Regions from separate parts of the Homo sapiens genome. Here regions 1 and 3 are each linked to region 2. Evidence: promoter capture Hi-C in human tissues and cell types (Jung and others, 2019). All regions are on one chromosome and are shown on one strand. Each heading gives the region's core, a stretch centred on a gene start or on the middle of the fragment in contact. The rest is flanking DNA. Distances are from core to core; before and after follow the strand shown. Region 1 overlaps SPATA16 (spermatogenesis associated 16). Region 2 holds the start of NLGN1 (neuroligin 1). Region 3 overlaps NLGN1 (neuroligin 1).

Region 1 (2,700 bases), core at 75-2,574, 400 kb after region 2:
TCCACCATATTCTCAAATTTGAAAGCCAAGACTTAACATTTCAAGACATTTTTATCAGCTTTCTCTCCTAGCCTATTTTGGGATATCCTTCTTTGCCTGCTTTAATTTAAGAACATGTTCTTTTTCTATACGTTATATCTCCTACAGATTCCAACTTAATTTTAGCTTCTGAAGCTTATCCTGCTATTCTTTTATACTCTCTTTCTTTAATTACCTGAATCATAAAATCCAGTTCTGTTAGAATTGAAGCTAGAAGATCAGGATTAGCAATCCAGTTTTAATGTTTACAATTGTATTAGCCCCAAGAAGACATCTAGCCTTTGTGGAAAGTAGATAATAATAATAGTATTACCTAGTCTCACTTCTCCAAAAGTTGTTATAGGAATCAACTCTCTCTTTTCCTCTGGATCCTCCTACATCATACTCTTCAGATTTTACCCCATCCCCCTGATTTTTCTTTCCCAATCTCTTATTACTCAACTCACTGCCTAAAAACAGTATTTCCAAAGGTTCTATCCCCTTTACTTTTTTAAAAAAGAATTGCACATTTTCTTTTCCTTGTCCATTAAGTATCCCCTTCTGACTTTAAGTAATCAATATACTAATGATTCCCATATTTATGTCTACATTCTCAGATCTTTCCCCTCAAGCTCCACCTTTTATATTCAAGCACCATCTGAATATTCAAGCACCCCCATTTGGCTGTATTACAGGCATTTCAAGCAAAACATGTTCTAAACTTAAATTTTTACTGGTCTCAAAAACTTAACTCTCAAGTATTCTAACTGCCTAACATAAGGGATTAATTAATTAAAAAGTTAAAATGCCCACAGAATACAATGCAAAGATTTTAATTAATGCTACAAATGAATATTTACTAATGTGGAATATATTCACACCATATTGTTAATTTATTAAAGCAAGTTAACTGTATGTGCAGTATGCTTTATTTGCAGTACAAATTTGAACACATCTCTTTCCAGATTAATTACCTTAAATGGCTCTCCATAATCTACAAAATAATTCCTGGCCAGAAAAAATTAAAAATTATCTTATAATTAAGACCCTGTTTGTCACTCTGGCCTCCTTTCCCATCACGTGCGTGTGCACACACACACACATACACACACACAGATTTCAGTACTGAAATACCCCCCAAGCACAGCATGTTATTTTATGCTTCCACACATTTGCCTATGCCATCTTCTGTGCTCAAAATAGCTTTTTCCTCTTTGGTCACCTCTGAAGCCCTTCTCAGGACCTATCTGCCCTGGTTTCTCTGATTCTGCTTTCTCCCAGTAGAATTAACGCCTCTTTTTTTGTGCTATCTATCTCTATGCCTTGCCTATACAGCTACTAGTGGATATTCCGTGAATGCTAATTGAACTTAAAATAGCATGGGTTTCTTGAGAGTTTAGAACTGACTGATTCACCAAGAGTTTCTTCTTCCAAAGGGGGCTCCCTACCAGGAGTCACATACTCTTGGTATCTAAATCTTGAATCTAATTCTAAAGTAGGTAAGATTTTCTTAGAACAGGTGTCTGTGTATTAAAATACATAATAAAAGGGGAGCTCCTTATTCCAGACCTTTATAAAAGTCAACAAAAGTATTGGGAATGATGTGACCCAGACTCTGTAATGAAAAGTTTATGGCTTTTACTCTATGTCTTCCATGACTTGAATTTCCCTAAGCCTTATTAACATGTGAACACAAATTAAATCACAAGAACTGCAACAAGTTAATATTCTAGCTTATATCCCCACCAGAATAATACAAGACTTCAGTCCCCCCAACTGTCTTCTGGGATTCCTGGTGGCCAGCTAACATGCATTCCAGACAAGAATAGAGCAGAACAGCATGGTACAAAGAGGTTAGCATCTTAAGCGGGGGAGGGGGAAAGAGAAGAAAAGCAAAGAGGTAATGTCAGAAATACCCTTAGAAGTTTTTTGTATCATCTGCTGCTATGTGTGTTGTTTTGTGTATACAACCTATACACAAATATGCTCACATAAACATTTAATATTTATTGTAATTATGCCACAGGAAGATTATAATCAGAAGCTGTCACTCAAGGATTTCTCTGCTTGGAATACTTCAGCAAAGTAATGCAGATTCTATCCTGTTGGCTCTTGCTGTTCATCATCATCATTCCGTCTTTCACAGATGACTTTATCTGTCCAACAAACTCTTCCTTGGCCCTCAATTAATTACTACTTTTTTTCCTGGAAGGCTTAGAGGACCACCCACTTGCCCACAAGATGTTTGATTTATTTGCCATTGATCAAGGAAACCCTTACATCTTTCTCATATTTTAAAAACATTTTTAAAAATAGGTTTCAAATTTGATTATTGATGATTTGACTGATTCCATCCATTGCCTGTGAGCTTAACCTTATTGAATAGAATGGCAAGCTGTCACTTGCCACTATTTAATTTTCATTTTCTCTCTTTTTTTTTTCACTAATATTTTAAAATCCAACAAAGGTTGGATTTTAAACCTGCATAATGTAACCTTTCTGTTCACTCAGTTTTGGGATCAATCTTCAGCCTCTGGATCCCTCGCCAAGGAACTGGGGATAAGCCCCAACCACTGGGGGATAAGAGAATTCTCTCTCTAATAGTGTAGTCTGGATACTCTCGTAGGGATTCCAAAACATTCTTTTTCTGGGTTTGTTGTATTTTAGGTGTAATTGCTCAAA
Region 2 (2,773 bases), core at 159-2,658:
TGCAGTGCAAGTAGACTTAGATTCATTCTCTGCCAAAGGCACAGTAAATTTAATGTTTTTGCATTTAACATTTAATATTTTAAATATATGAATGGCCCTTGCTTCTGAGCTCATTTCAAAAACCTTGTGTTCTGCTAGGTTACAATGGCTGATAGAAATGCTGAGACATTTTATAGGTTTTACACTCAAACATAGGTACACATACCCTTTCTCAGTGACATTTTAATATCTATGATCCTATTAATAATTGAGCACAATTAATGGTGAGAAATGCATTAAGACCCTGTAATTTTCATGTACAGCATGACAACTCAATTGACTTAAGCAAAAATAGTCTACCGGAGTTTGAGTATAAAAAGAGGGAAAATGAGTATATTAACTACCTGTAAAAATGCAGAGTAACAGATACTGGGTTAACTATACGAATTCACGTTTCCCAAGTGTTATATGTATCACTATGGCCCTGGAAATGCAAAAAGAAATAGTACCTTTGTGGAGGCCAACTGTTCATGATTTAGAATTATCACAAATGAATCAAATATTGGACATGTAATATCCCTCATCTCTATAACACACTAACAACCTCCTCTGGAAGAAATTATTCCCAATGCAAAATCTCAACCTAAATAATTTTAAATTCAGGTGGTTTTTCATTTCTACTCACAAGGCATTGTGTTGAGGCGGGCAGGAGTCGGTGGAGAACGGTTTAAATGTTTGGAATACCTTCTCTTCCCAGGAGAGTTTATTGCCCAATAATGCATAATATATTAGTTGCTCAACGCGGGGGATCTAGGGAGTGACATCTTGACTGGAAACACACAGATCTGAAAACCACCTCTCAGGAAACGTTGTGGGGAAGAAGAGCAACTTTCTTATCCCTGTCAAACTAACCGGCGGAACCAACCCCAGAACTAGCCGGAGGGCCTGGGGAGAGCAGAAGGCTGAAAGCAGCTCCTCTGCGCTCCGCCGAGGGTTCAGGCAAGGGTTTTCTTCTGGAGGCGGCATTGTTCCTCCATCTGCTCAGCCTCCGTATTTCGCCAGGAAACCCTCCCCGCTTTCTCGTAATCTGTTCCTTATTTCTTTTGTACCTCTCAGCCGATTTCCATGCTCTTGGTCTCTGTGGTCCCAGGGCACAGCTCTAGGGTGAAGAGCTGCAGTGACTGGGGCGCCGCTCTAAGGCTTTGGAGGCGACTGCACTCCGCCCGGGCTCTGGCAGCGTGAGCGCCGCACAGTCGCTCGCTCCCTTCTCTCCGGTCTCTCCGGCTCGGACGGGCTCTCCCGGCCTCTCATCACCCACTCCGACTCGCCTTTCCTGCCGTGTCTCCCCACGCCAGCTCCGCGCGCTCGGCGCTGGCCGCCCGGGCGCGCTCTCCGCGCCGCCGCCTGATCCTCGGCTTACAGCCGCGGCGCTCCCCCGCCCGCCCACAGGCCGGGACTCCGAATTGAAGGGTCAACCCTCCGCGGGGAGGCGGGGAGGAGCGGCGAGGAGAGCTGGGGCAAGTGGGGAGCCGCGGGTGGGGGGACTGACGGGGGAACGGGAGAGTGAGGCCAAGAAGAAAGAAGATGCATCTGCTCCGAAGACGCCAATGAAGAAAGGACAGAGGGGGCAGGAGTGGAGTGGGGGAGAGAACGCCCACCAGGAGGGTGGGCAAAACGGGCAATTTACAAACTGCCGGGGCTGGAGATGCCGCGCGGAGGAGGAAAGAGGTTAGCGGCACAGAAGAAGAAATGAGGGGAAGTTCCCACATCTCCCCAAAAGGTCACGTTTGAAAACCGTGTCCCTTGAACGGGAGTTAAACAAGCGACTGGCCATGGTGTAAAAGGTGGATTTAAAAGGAAATTTAGTGTCATGTACTTATTTAGACACGGCTTCGTCTCGCTCAACTCTGGCAAATTACCCTCCAAGTAAAATGTATTGGTTTTATGCAGAAACGGAAGGCGAATCTCCTCCACTGTGGACTCCTCCTGAGATTGGTTTGTTTGCTGGTTATCTTTCTTTTTAAATGAAAAAAAGCGTTTGGGAGCTTCCATGAACCCCAACGCTTAAAAAAAACCACCCAGTTTATTAAAGTTCATTATTTTTTATTGCTTTTATTTTCATCAGAGGATAGGGTGAGGGACTGGCATCTTCAGATGTTTAAAACACTTATTTAGGTAGCATTATTTTTTATAAAGGACACGATTTCCTAAAACCGCCAGAAAGGCTATTGGAAAACTCAGCTACTAGCCTGGGAAAGAGAGACGCATTTAAACTCAAATAGACGATTATACCTCCAGCACCCCCCACCCCCACCCCAATGGGATTGGAAAAGGGTTGAGTTTACAGAAGAGAGAGAGCAGAGAAGGGTGGGTGGAAGGTGGGGAAGGCGAAGGAGAGGCAGGGAATAGGAAGTTCTCGGCAATCCCCGGGATTAAGGTAAACGCCGGAGCTCGGCGGACGCAGGAAGCTCCCTTACCTTTCTCTCTAAGCCCCGTTTGCACCTGATCTGCAACCATAAATACTTCGTGGTGCTTAGTGTGCAGCCAAACGATGGCCAAATGTTAAACAATTCTTCACGCTCCCTCCCCCTTTTAAAAAACAGGCTCAAAAGAATGTTAATAGTGTTCTTGTTATCCATCGGCTCCAAAACATTCCGTTTCGTGGGGAGGAGAGACGAAAACCAGGCCCTTGGGCACGCGTATATGTATTTATATATTATGCGGTCGGTATATAAACATATATACGTTTCCTGCATGTAAATCCAAAATGAAAAGCACCACAGATGCTTCTGTA
Region 3 (2,879 bases), core at 144-2,643, 330 kb before region 2:
AGTCAGAGATAGAGGGCAAAAAGAGGAAATTCTGCCTCACTGACCTATTCAGAAACTTTAAGTCCCATAGGTGAAATATCTGAAACAAATAGATATGCAAATGTAAAATGGAATTTTTGAAGCATTTGACAGAATATGGAAATTGGTAATCAGTAAAAATTTTCTATGATTGGATTACAGAACCACCAATGTATGGGTCCCACCACATACACATTTATATTGTGAGTGACCTGGACATTTGACAATGCATTCACCTTTAATATATACAACTATAACAATAAAGCTATTTTTAAGCTTTTATCAATGCTGTCAATATTTCTCCGTAAAAATTAAACTTAGCAATGTTATTCTTTTACAAGCAGCAGAAATTCCACGTTGCAGATTTGCATTCCATCAAAGGCATTATAATAAATTAAGAAGAATCATTAGAAAAGCTTACAATTTTGCATATTGCTTCACCAAGACTTCAAATCTGTGTAAGTGTGTGTATTTTAAACCATCCACGCAACTTATGTCCCTGGGTAAAATAATTTTAGAGATTACAAAAATCTTTAGATACCAAAGCCTAAAGAATTAGGATAGATGGAAACAAAATGAAGTTATTGTAATGCCCAAAGACTCAGAGGCTCACAGAAGACCAAGGAGTCTAAACATAGGAACAAGAAGTATTATCTGGGTTAGGAATCCTTGATCCATTGATGAATCTGAACTCAACAAAAAGTGTTTTGTTTTGTTTTTCGAGAATTTTAAAGCTGAAAATACATTTTCTGGGAATTGCTCAGCAGTGGATGGAATGACTGAGAGATAACTTGCTTGGTGGCTCTTAAGTCCAACTGATATTTTAAGAATCCTGGTTTCAAAAATTACTACCAGTATGACCTGGGTTTATAAAACCCCTCAAAGTCTTAGTGTTTTCATTTTAAAAGTATATGACAATCATCTCAGCAAAATAAGATTCCATCAGGTAATCTGAATAAAGTATTCAGTACAATGTCTAGCACATACTGATGGTTCAATGTTTATTATTTGCTGTAGTTCAGATATGTTATTAATTTCCTAGGGCTACAGGAACAAATTACCACAAACTCGGTGGCTTAAAATGAGAGAAATTTATCCTCTCACAGTTCTGGATGCTTGAAGTCTGAAATCAACCTGCCAGCAGGGCCATACTCCCTCTGAAGACTCTAGGGAAAAAAATCCTTCTTTGCGTCTTCCTAGCTTCTGGGGGCTTCCAGCAATCCTTAGCATTGCTTGACTTATAGCTGCCTCATTTAAATGTCTGCTTCTGTTTTTCACATGTTGTTCTTCCCTATACGTATGCATCCATCTGGTTCACCTCTACTCTTACAAAGATACCAGTCTTTGGATTTAGGGCCCACTCTAATCAAGCATGACTCATCTGAACTAAGTACATCTTAAAAGACCCAATTTTCAAATAAGGTCACATTTTGAGGTGTGGGGTTGACATGAATTGTTGGAGGGGGGGCACTATTCAACCCACTATAGATATTTAGCCCATTCTAAAGCTCACGTGGCTTTAACCAAAACAAGGGAAAGGTCAGAACACAATGGAGTATAAAGGAGGTAGTCACCTCTGTTATATATTGTCCTCCCATACATACATGCAAAGTCCACCTAGACTGGTAGTGTGAACACATTATTTTTCCATATGCCAAAATTTGCCTGTAAGATATCTTCTACCAGTTTGTTTTTATGTTTCTTAGGACTTTCATAGTCTTGCCACGTCTTATTCATTTGTCACTTACATCTTGTCACTAAGTCTAGTCATTTTTCTCTACTACACATCTCTCACATCCATTCTTCTCTCTCACTTCGAATTCTACCCAACCTTAGTGCCTCACACTAACATGAGTATAACCACCTTCAAACTAACCCTTGCCTCTAGACTTTCCCACCATAGGGCAAACTGCTGAGAGATTAATTCCCTATATTTTTTTCATATCAGTTCATATTCCCCAAGCCATCAATGATTCACCATTTATTTAGAGTAGAATCTACGTTCTTCAGATCAGCTGCATAGACTTTTATGATCTGATCCATTCACTTACCCCCAAATACTTCCTTCTGCAACTCAGTGGGAAACACCATCTCCAGTAATCCTGGTTTATTGTCTCCATTGCCTTCCTGTACTTCTTTTTGATTGCAAGAGGAAATTCCTTCTTAGCAGCATCAAAAAATACAGAGAATAATTCTGCCTTCATTTCAAAAGTCACTTTAAACCGAAATTCTGAGCTATAAAGGATTTGTAAAGGAGCCAGAATGTTTCCTTCCATGAATAAAGGATAAAGAATTTGTATATATATATACTTGTGGACTGGGACCCTACAGCCCTTGCAAGGTGTGTGGGTTGGGCAAGAGCTGAAAGGTTAAAAATTGGCTTTTGCTAGAGTGAATTCCAACCAAAAGAATGTTCATTTGGAAATGCCCAGCAAATGGTGAGAGCCAAGTCTAGGTTTTGTGTCAGTATTATTTCCAGGAGATAGTTTAAGGTGCTAGAAGGGCATACAACTCTAGCACGTCAGTGGCAGGCATAATGAAAGATATTTGCAAGAATCTATTATTTTACAAGAGTAGCATTGAAAGATGTGCTTTATAAATATTTTTCTACTTTTTAATAATTGAAAACTAGATATTGGTCTCCAAAGGAAAATATGTTTCTCTCCTGGGAAGTCAGCTCTGTATGTTAGGTAAGATTTCTGGGAACGGTCATTTAAGCTTGCCACTTACTAATTAACTGATCCCATGAAATACTTAAACCCTACTAGGATTTGCTATGCCCCAGTAAATCTGTTTCCCCCTCTGATGTTTCACTGTTGCTTTTTCCTCCCAACAGTGGCTATGAAACTTCTGTTGATAGA

Evidence for each region. The method cuts DNA at HindIII sites, captures the fragments that hold promoters and counts their contacts. A contact is called where the count stands out against the background at its distance.
Region 1: a fragment that was not itself captured here is called in contact with the fragment with the promoter of NLGN1 in region 2 in 1 of the 25 tissues and cell types used here (dorsolateral prefrontal cortex).
Region 3: a contact is called between a fragment that was not itself captured here and the fragment with the promoter of NLGN1 in region 2, in 1 of the 25 tissues and cell types used here (hippocampus).

Annotation. Positions count from the first base shown.
Region 1 is chr3:172,992,962-172,995,661 of GRCh38, reverse strand. The region is part of intron 4 of SPATA16 (spermatogenesis associated 16); the gene reads left to right. Among named protein-coding and RNA genes, the nearest start is that of SPATA16, 150 kb to the left of the region's middle. The HindIII fragment of the contact is 3,298 bases long and covers 1-2,700 here.
Region 2 is chr3:173,396,379-173,399,151 of GRCh38, reverse strand. NLGN1 (neuroligin 1) reads right to left here and starts at 1,408. Exons shown (of 7, transcript NM_001365925.2): 1 at 1,089-1,408. RefSeq lists an enhancer at 2,640-2,773. The HindIII fragment of the contact is 5,603 bases long and covers 1-2,773 here.
Region 3 is chr3:173,727,121-173,729,999 of GRCh38, reverse strand. The region is part of intron 3 of NLGN1 (neuroligin 1); the gene reads right to left. Among named protein-coding and RNA genes, the nearest start is that of NLGN1-AS1, 190 kb to the left of the region's middle. The HindIII fragment of the contact is 3,312 bases long and covers 1-2,879 here.